Regions from separate parts of the Homo sapiens genome. Here all the other regions are linked to region 3. Evidence: promoter capture Hi-C in 16 types of primary human blood cells and fetal thymus (Javierre and others, 2016). All regions are on one chromosome and are shown on one strand. Each heading gives the region's core, a stretch centred on a gene start or on the middle of the fragment in contact. The rest is flanking DNA. Distances are from core to core; before and after follow the strand shown.

Region 1 (2,700 bases), core at 90-2,589, 430 kb before region 3:
TCGAGATTCATGAAGCAACTGAGGTTATGAACAAGAGTGACTTGATCCAGCTACTCTGGAGGCTGAGTGGGAGGATTCCTTGAGCTCAGGAGTTTGAATCCAGGCTGGACAACACAGCAAGACTTTGTCTCTACTAAAAAAAAAAAATGCAGTGACTAGAGAAAAGCAGCACCTGAGGTTGACTCTGACCACAGTTTGAAAGGACCGACGTACAGGTGGGCAGCCAAAACCCTGAGACGCTGGGTACCCCCAGGACCCGCAAATAGTAAATAGTGAGAAGCAAAGGCTGAGGAAGCTTCCGCAGAGCAGGGAGGGCAGAGGTCCACACCGGACTACTATAGAGCTCGTCAGAATGAAACTGGCCAGTTGGCTTTACCCAATGCCAAGCCCAAGGCATTGAGTCCCAAAGAAACACTGGGAGAATTGGTCACTGGTGACTTTTTGGAAAAGGTGGCCAAGAGACAGAAGAGGAAGAAGGCATGCACAGCCAGTGCCCGGACACCCCACGCACCAACCTGCCCCTCCGCCCACAAACCAGCGTGTGAGGTGGAGACCTAGAGGAGGAGTGCCAGAATGGGGATGCCAACAAGAAGTTACTCAAACGGTTACTGACTGTGCAAGTTACTGCCCACATTCCACAGTCAATGCCCCCCACCCATAAAAATAATGTAAGATGGTCATAGGTACTTTGCAAACAGACCTTACCGTCCCCCACTGTTCTATTCAAAGACAAGAAAGAACAAAAGCAAAGATGTTAAATCATAACCTTTTATCTGAAACTAGGAACATTTTGTGAATTTCTCTAGGACACAAAAACTTCATCCAATTCAAATAAAAATCCAAGCATGCTATTTAGAAACTTTCTACTTTGCAGCCATAGCCTGCACACCATTGTGTCACTTAGGTATTCTATCTCACGTATCTACAACATATCCTCCCAGGTAAAGAAACAAACATTACAAATACAGTTAAAACTGATTATGCGGTAACTCTCTTCATCTCCCCTAGGAGGTGACCGTTAAAAAGCATTTCCGGGAGGGTGCAGTGGCTCACAGCTATAATCCCAGTACTTTGGGAGGCCGAGGCGGGCAGATCACTTGAGGTCAGGAGTTTGAGACCAGCCTGGCCAACATGGTAAAACCCTGTCTCTACTAAAAATACAAAAAAGTTAGCCAGGAGTGGTGGTGGGCATCTGTAGTCTCAGCCACCCAGGAGGCTGAGGCACGAAAATTGCTTGAACCCCGGAGGTGGAGGATACAGTGAGCTAAGATCACACCACAGCACTCCAGCCTGGGCAGCAGAACATGAGTCCATCTCAAAAAAAAAAAAAAAAAAAAAAAAGGCATTTCTGCATTTCCATAAATTGAAGACATTAGCATATATCTGTAGTTCCAGCTCCTGAGGAGGCCAAGGCAGGAGAGATCCCTGGAGGTCAGGGGTTCAAGACCAACCTGGGCAACATAGCAAGACCCCTTCTCTACAATAAATTTAAAAATTAGCCAGGTGTGGTGGCACACCATCTTTAGTCCCACCTCCTTGGGAGGCTGAGGCAGGACTGCTTGAGCCCAGGAATTCAAGGCTGCAGGGAGCTATGATCACACCTGTCGACAGCCACTGCACTCCAACCTGGGTAAGAGTGTGACAGTGAGAAAGGCACTCATGTGGCCAGTCTCACTGTCCATATCTGAGTCCCTAAACCAAGTTATTCTCACTGTCCATACCTGAGTCCCTAAGCCAAGTTGTAGAGTTAAACTCTACGTTTACATCCTTCCGCAATTTCCCATTTATCAATGCTAAAACATTGGTTTAGTCACAATTTCTTTAAATCCATGGCAACTAAACCCTTAGAAGTTGTCCACAAGGCACTGAGCTTTTACATGCATCTTGAACCCGTGTCTCAGTGGTAACAGTACTAACCAAGTGATTTTAACTGGTTTGCATTCTAAGCTAAATTAAGACAATGACATTCATAATTATATCATCATCTACAGAAGCTACCTCAAAAGCTGGCTGAGTACTATGTTATGAGAAGGCCAATGCTTTTCCGTTCCATTTTCTTGTATGAAAAAAATCTTTATCTTGTTTATTTCTCTACTGACATTTTGTAGCTTAAATATAATTTTTCACAATTCAGGTATTCACTGAATTTTAACTCGTATAATTTCAAATATTAAAATCACAAATTACCCTAAAAATGAAGTCTCATTTGTAACAGAAACAGTGCTAAGAAACATTAAAATAATTTCAAAATTTATAATATTTAAAGACCAGTTAAAAGTTGCCACTTGAGATCAGACAAGTCCTTATTTCAAGTAAGAGCTACTTATCATGTGCTGGTTTCTGTCGTTTTGAAAAGCAATCTAGAAGTATGTATTAAGCTTTTAAAACCTTCAGCCCCCAAAATAAAACCAATATTTTTATTATAAAAAACCCTCAACCCAGCAATTCTACGTCAGGGAACTCAACTCATCCCAAAACGTGGAACTAAGTTGCTGAGCGTGCGTAACCATGCACAGGCAAGCAAGCATGTGAAGTGCAGACTTGAAGTGTTCGTGGCTAGCAGAGCTGGAGAGAAATGCAAGGAAGCCTGTGGGCATCACAACTATACAGCGCACGCTACAACGCACAACCATACAGCGCGTGCTACAATGCTCCCGTGGGGCTCCGACCGCGGGCATCACAACTATACAGCACGTGCTA
Region 2 (2,700 bases), core at 87-2,586, 260 kb before region 3:
CCCTGTGTGAATTCATTTATGATCCCTTAGCATAGAGCTGTGTCACTATGGGTGGGATGAATACTGTGAGTGTTCAAATAACTGAGAATAAAACACTCTAACCTATGAAAGTCATGAAGTATCTGGTATGCACTGCTGCTGTCAAGGGTTAACCAAATTTTATATAGCCCTTAGTTACCACTTGTTAACCCATTTATGCCTAGTGTTCCATTACTGGAACGCTAAGCTTGTGGGATTTATATTCTACTGCTCAAGGTCATTGCCAAGGCCTGATTTTTCACACAAAAAATTCGCAACCTCTGGCACAAACGGGTTAAAAACTGGAGTATTTTGAAAAACAGTATTCTTCAGCACATATTTAAAACACTATAAAATTACTGCATATAGCATCCACTTTAGTAGTCAAAAAACAAAAACAAAATCAATCAAAATCTTCAATAACAGAAAAGGATAAGGCACAGCGCTACAAGCTTTGGATCTCTTGGTTGTAACATAGTCAAATGGTCGCATGTTAGGATTATATTAACAGGGCACTGCTGTTGCTTTATTACTTTTTAAAAATAGCTTTTTGGAACTGAAAAAATACAACTTAACCACTAAGGAAGTAAAAAAATCACTCATAGTATGGCTCTCTCTCTCTCTCTCTCTCTCTCTCCAGACATATGGATAATGAGGGCATGGGAACCTTCCTCCTCATTCCCTGCCACTTCCTCCTGTTTCCCTATCACAGGAGGAAACTCCTGTTAAGTTTGGTGGATGCACACAGACATCTCAAAACAGGATTTCCTATCTCATCAAGCTAAAGTAATTATAGCTCTAAATTACACTTCAAGAGGAGTTTATAAATTTGATAAATGCATAAACTGTTTTAGCAGTGTCAAGACAGGGCTTAGAAAGTGACCTCAATTCTTACAGTGACAAAGAAAGATGACTCTATCCACTTAAAATTCTATGCTCTGTGACCAGCCAGCAGAGCCTCTCACACAAATGACTTTGGGAGGACCATGATAGGACTGAAAAATGAAAATGGTCGGTGTTGAAGGAGTCAGGTCTCATCGTTTGCAATTCTGTCAAAATCAATGGAAGGCAGGAGATCATGGGCTAAACGCTTCTGCGTTCTTTGGTTGATTCTACCTCGAATTCTTCAACTCAAATTTGGCACAACAATAATATGAAAAATGCTGATACAATTTGTATTCTTTTCAGAAGGGGAGTGTAGAATAGCAGCTGGTTCTACCATCATATACATGACCTCATCTGTAAAACAAATTATAGTATCTTTCTCACAGAACTATTGTATTAAATGAATATATGCAAAACTCTTAGAATACTGCCTAAAACACAGTTAACTACAGAGGTGTAAGTTCATACAACTTCATAATAGAGATAGTATTTTCTTAAAAGAACAGCTAACAGCAGCTGATTACTCAAAAATTATGCAGTGATTTTTATTTTGGGGGCTCAGCTCAATAGCAGGTAGCATAAAATGGTTTGGGGGACAGGTGACCAAAGAACAGAAATCCTTTAAAAAAAAAAAGGTCTTTAAACAATTCTAAACTCAAAAGGTCTTACAACAACTTGATTTCAAACCTAAAACAATCACCACCACCAACAAAAAAAAGGTAAATTTTCACCCTCTTTTTTTTTGGAGAGAGAGTCACCCTACCGCCCAGGCTGGAGTGCAGTGGCGCTATCTCGGCTGACTGCAACCTCTGCCTCCCGGGTTCTAGCAATTCTCCTGCCCCAGCCTCCCTAGTAGCTGGGATTACAGGCGTACATCACGCCCAGCTAATTTTTTGTATCTTTAGTAGAGATGGGGTTTCACCATCTTGGCCAGGCTGGTCTCAAACTCCTGACCTCGTGATCCACCCGCCTTGGCCTCCCAAAGTGCTGGGATTATAGGCGTGAGCCACCACACCCGGCCTTGCCCTAACTCTTAAAACTTTCAATGATGAATAAAGTGGCAGGGAGTCATTTTGAGGCATAAAAAAATTCTGTACAAACTTTTCATTTAACGCTTAACCAAAACAAAATAAGGCCAGGGTGGAAAATATCTTATATGGCATTATTAAGTTCAGAGATTTCTACATACTAAAGATAAGCCTGTCATGGAAATTATGAAACTCTCAACAGATGCCATAAAACAGTGAAATTATCTGATATCATACACAACACCTGATATTGCACATCATGGAAAGCTTTATTAACAAAGACCCCAGGGTTTAATCAAATATTGAAAGGAAAACAAATATGCTACCGTTAACACCCACATCCAGGAAAAGCTTATGTAAGAATTATAAGTTTTAAATAGGTGAGACTGCTTATTTTTTAACATAGAAAAATTGCAAATTTGTCAATCTTTAAGAAAGGATATAGTAAAGGCTTACCATGTGACCGTCCCAGTTTACTTAGGAATACAGAAATAGGTAATTAAAATAAATTGTGCAAACATATATTACATCAATCTGCCCAAATTATAAATTCAACGATGCATTAGGACTGTATTCAGTGCAATCAAAACATTATCAGTTACGGCTGCTGCTGCTAATGCTCATGCTCCTAAGAGAAATGTGTTGTAAAACCAGGCAGAACGGGCTGGAGAGAGACTCTCGTGGACTTGGAGGATGAATAAGCATTCCTTAATTAGCCCATCAGGTTAAGTGCAAGCATTAATGGGCCCTTCCTAAAGTCTAGCTTGAC
Region 3 (2,700 bases), core at 86-2,585:
AAGAGGCCTTAACAGATGAGGTAGGGTTAACAGGTTTAGAGACCTGGGCTGGTAAACACAGAATGAAGATGCTGCACTGTGGAAATGGCCCTTAAGTCCCCGGGATAAAAATGTCTCTATATTGCTTTTCTCCTAAACTTTACATTATGAAAATTTAAAAACATGAAAGAAGACCGAATAGAGTAACGTACTCGATTTACTCACATTCAGCTGAAACCATTATCAAGACACCAAGTCTGTGTCATTTCTGCCTCACGCCCCATTCCCTGTCCCGTTATTTTGAAGGAAATCCCAGAGGGCCTAGAGAGTGTTCACACGATACCTTATCCGTTATGTCACCGTCCTCCGAGGAATTTTCACTCTTTTCTTCATCTTCTGCAAAACGGACTCTCTTCCCCCTCCTTTTCTCCTGCGCTCCCTTTTCCTTTTCTTCCCCCTGTTCCTCTTCTGTATCCTCGTCGTCGTCCTCGCTCTGCGCTTCTGCTTCCTGCGCCTTCTTTTCCTTTTCTACGTCTCCCTCCTCCTCCTCCTCACTTTCGTCCTGGGAGTCACTCTCTAAGTCACTTTCGGGGAGTGTCTGTCCGGCATCTTCCTCCTCCTCACCACTGCTGTCGTACAAGCCGCTATTTTTCCCAGACTCCAGGGCTCCCAGAATATAGTCAAGACCGTCGCGTGCAAAGCTCAGCGGCACGGAGCTGCTGCCGTCCTTCTTTTTGCGCTTGTTCAAACCGAGGCAACGCTCCAGCTTTCGGATCTCTCGGTCCTCCTCCTCGTTCGCCGCTAAAAGCGCCCGTTTCCGGGCAGCGGCGGTGGCGGCTGCGGAGGGTCTGGTCTTTGCGGTGGCGGCCGTGGCCTTGGCCTTGACCCGGGACGGCCGCGGCTTCCTGGGAGGCGAGGGGTCCCGACTAGGGGCTGGGCGGGCGCGCTCCTCCGTGTCCTGCCGGTGACCGCTGGCTTCTTCGGCTCCGCTTCGGCCTCCCAGGCCGGGACCCTGTTCGGGGCCCGCCGTCCTCTGCAGCCGGCGTGCTTTCCGCAGGTGCCGCTTCTCCTTCCTCAGTTCCTTACGGCTTTTTCTCCCTCCCGGGCGAAAGCTCACCGGGGCGCCGCGCCCCTCGCAACCCCCGGGAGCCTCGCCTTCCGAAGTCGCGTGCACGAACTCCTCCACCGCTAGCTTCAGCCTCTTCAGGGCCTTCTCCCCACCGCCAGCAGGACCGCGGCGCGGCCCGCGCCCGCCTCTGCGCTTCATGCGGACCACGCGTCCCTGGGAGCCGCCCGGGCCGGCCTCTCCCGCGCTCCTGGACGCCGCCATCTTTCGAAACGCGTGGACGCACGACTTCCGGCCGAGGCGGGACTTCCGGGGAAGAGGCGGCTGCGCGGGGCGGGCGGGCGGCGCCCCCTGCTGGCCGGAGGGCGACAGCGTGCAGAGCTGCGCGGAGCCGGGTGCGGGGGCAGCCGGGCAGGTGGCGCCCGGGGCAGGCGCGCCCGCGGGTGGGCGCCGCGTGGACGTCAGGCTCGCGATGAGCATGGAGGTGCCTTCACATTTAAAAGGGAAATCCGGCCGGGCGCGGTGGCTCACGCCTGTAATCCCAGCACTTTGGGAGGCCGAGACGGGTGGATCACCTGAAGTCAGGAGTTCGAGACCAGCCTGGCCAACCTGGTGAAACCCACCCACCCCCCTACAAAAATTAGCTGAGCGTGGGGGCACGCGCCTGTAATCCCAGCTACTCGGAGGCTGAGGCAGGAGAATCGCTTGAACCACGGAGGCGGAGGTTGCAGTGAGCCGAAATGGCGCCATTGCACTCCAGCCTGGGCGACAGAGCGAGACTCCAAAGGGAAATCCTCGCGTATGATGGAGGGGAGACTCCGCGCGGGTCGGCGCGGTGCCGGAGGTTGGCGGCGGCGACGACGCTGGGATGCGCGGGCCCCAGGTTCGTGTCCGCCCAGGACCCAGGAATGCGACCTTATTTGGAAATAGGGCCTTTGCAGATGTGGTCGAGAGGAGCCCTCGTGGGTTAGGACTGGCCCCAGAGCCAGCGTTCTCCTGAGAAGCAGGCTCTGGATACGGACCAGGGAGACGCCTGTGGCCCCCAGGCGGCCGAGGACCCCTGAGGAGCCGGCCCTGCCCAGGCTGGGTTTGGACGCTGGGCCCCGAGGGCAGAGCGTTTGAGGTTCCTCTTTACTGGGTAACTTGAACCGGGAAGCGAACGCAGAGGCCGCGCAGTTTGCGTCTGGATTTTTGGGAAGCCCGGAGGCGCAGGAGCAGCCTCGCCTAGCAGTGAGCTGGGGGAAGACGGGGCTGCTGCTGTGGGGTTCTCGGCCTGACCAGGGGCCGCTTCTCTTCCCGGACAGCTTCAGAAGCTTCATTTCCACAGAGTTCCCACCCTTGACTTAATTTAATTTAATTTAATTTTTTTTCTTTTTTTTTTCTTGAGACCGAGTCTCACTCTGTTGCCCAGGCCGGAGTGCAATGGCGGACCAAAGTGCTGGGATTACAGGCAAGCCACCGCGCCCGGCCCGTCCTTGACTTTAAAATGATTTAATTTTTGTCAACTTGTCAGCTCAAAATGGCATCTTGTCATTTAGTTCCTGATGAGAGTGGGTGTCTTTGTTCACTGGCCATTTGTATTTCCTCCTCTGTTTATGGCCTTTGTCCATTTTCCTTATAGGTTTTACGAATTTTTTTAAATATAAAATTTATTT

The links. The method cuts DNA at HindIII sites, captures the fragments that hold promoters and counts their contacts. A CHiCAGO score of 5 or more calls a contact.
Region 1: a contact is called between a fragment that was not itself captured here and the fragment with the promoter of NOM1 in region 3, in 1 of 17 cell types (total CD8 T cells). The highest score is 5.6, in total CD8 T cells.
Region 2: a contact is called between a fragment that was not itself captured here and the fragment with the promoter of NOM1 in region 3, in 1 of 17 cell types (megakaryocytes). The highest score is 6.5, in megakaryocytes.

What each region holds. Positions count from the first base shown.
Region 1 is chr7:157,378,447-157,381,146 of GRCh38, reverse strand. The region is part of intron 5 of DNAJB6 (DnaJ heat shock protein family (Hsp40) member B6); the gene reads right to left. Among named protein-coding and RNA genes, the nearest start is that of DNAJB6, 43 kb to the right of the region's middle. The HindIII fragment of the contact is 2,083 bases long and covers 298-2,380 here.
Region 2 is chr7:157,209,123-157,211,822 of GRCh38, reverse strand. The region is part of intron 13 of UBE3C (ubiquitin protein ligase E3C); the gene reads right to left. Among named protein-coding and RNA genes, the nearest start is that of UBE3C, 72 kb to the right of the region's middle. The HindIII fragment of the contact is 1,728 bases long and covers 473-2,200 here.
Region 3 is chr7:156,948,347-156,951,046 of GRCh38, reverse strand. It overlaps NOM1 (nucleolar protein with MIF4G domain 1), which reads right to left and starts at 1,335. Exons shown (of 11, transcript NM_138400.2): 1 at 323-1,335. The coding sequence starts at 1,309. RefSeq lists silencers at 915-964, 1,245-1,594 and an enhancer at 1,655-2,183. The HindIII fragment of the contact is 6,978 bases long and covers 1-2,360 here.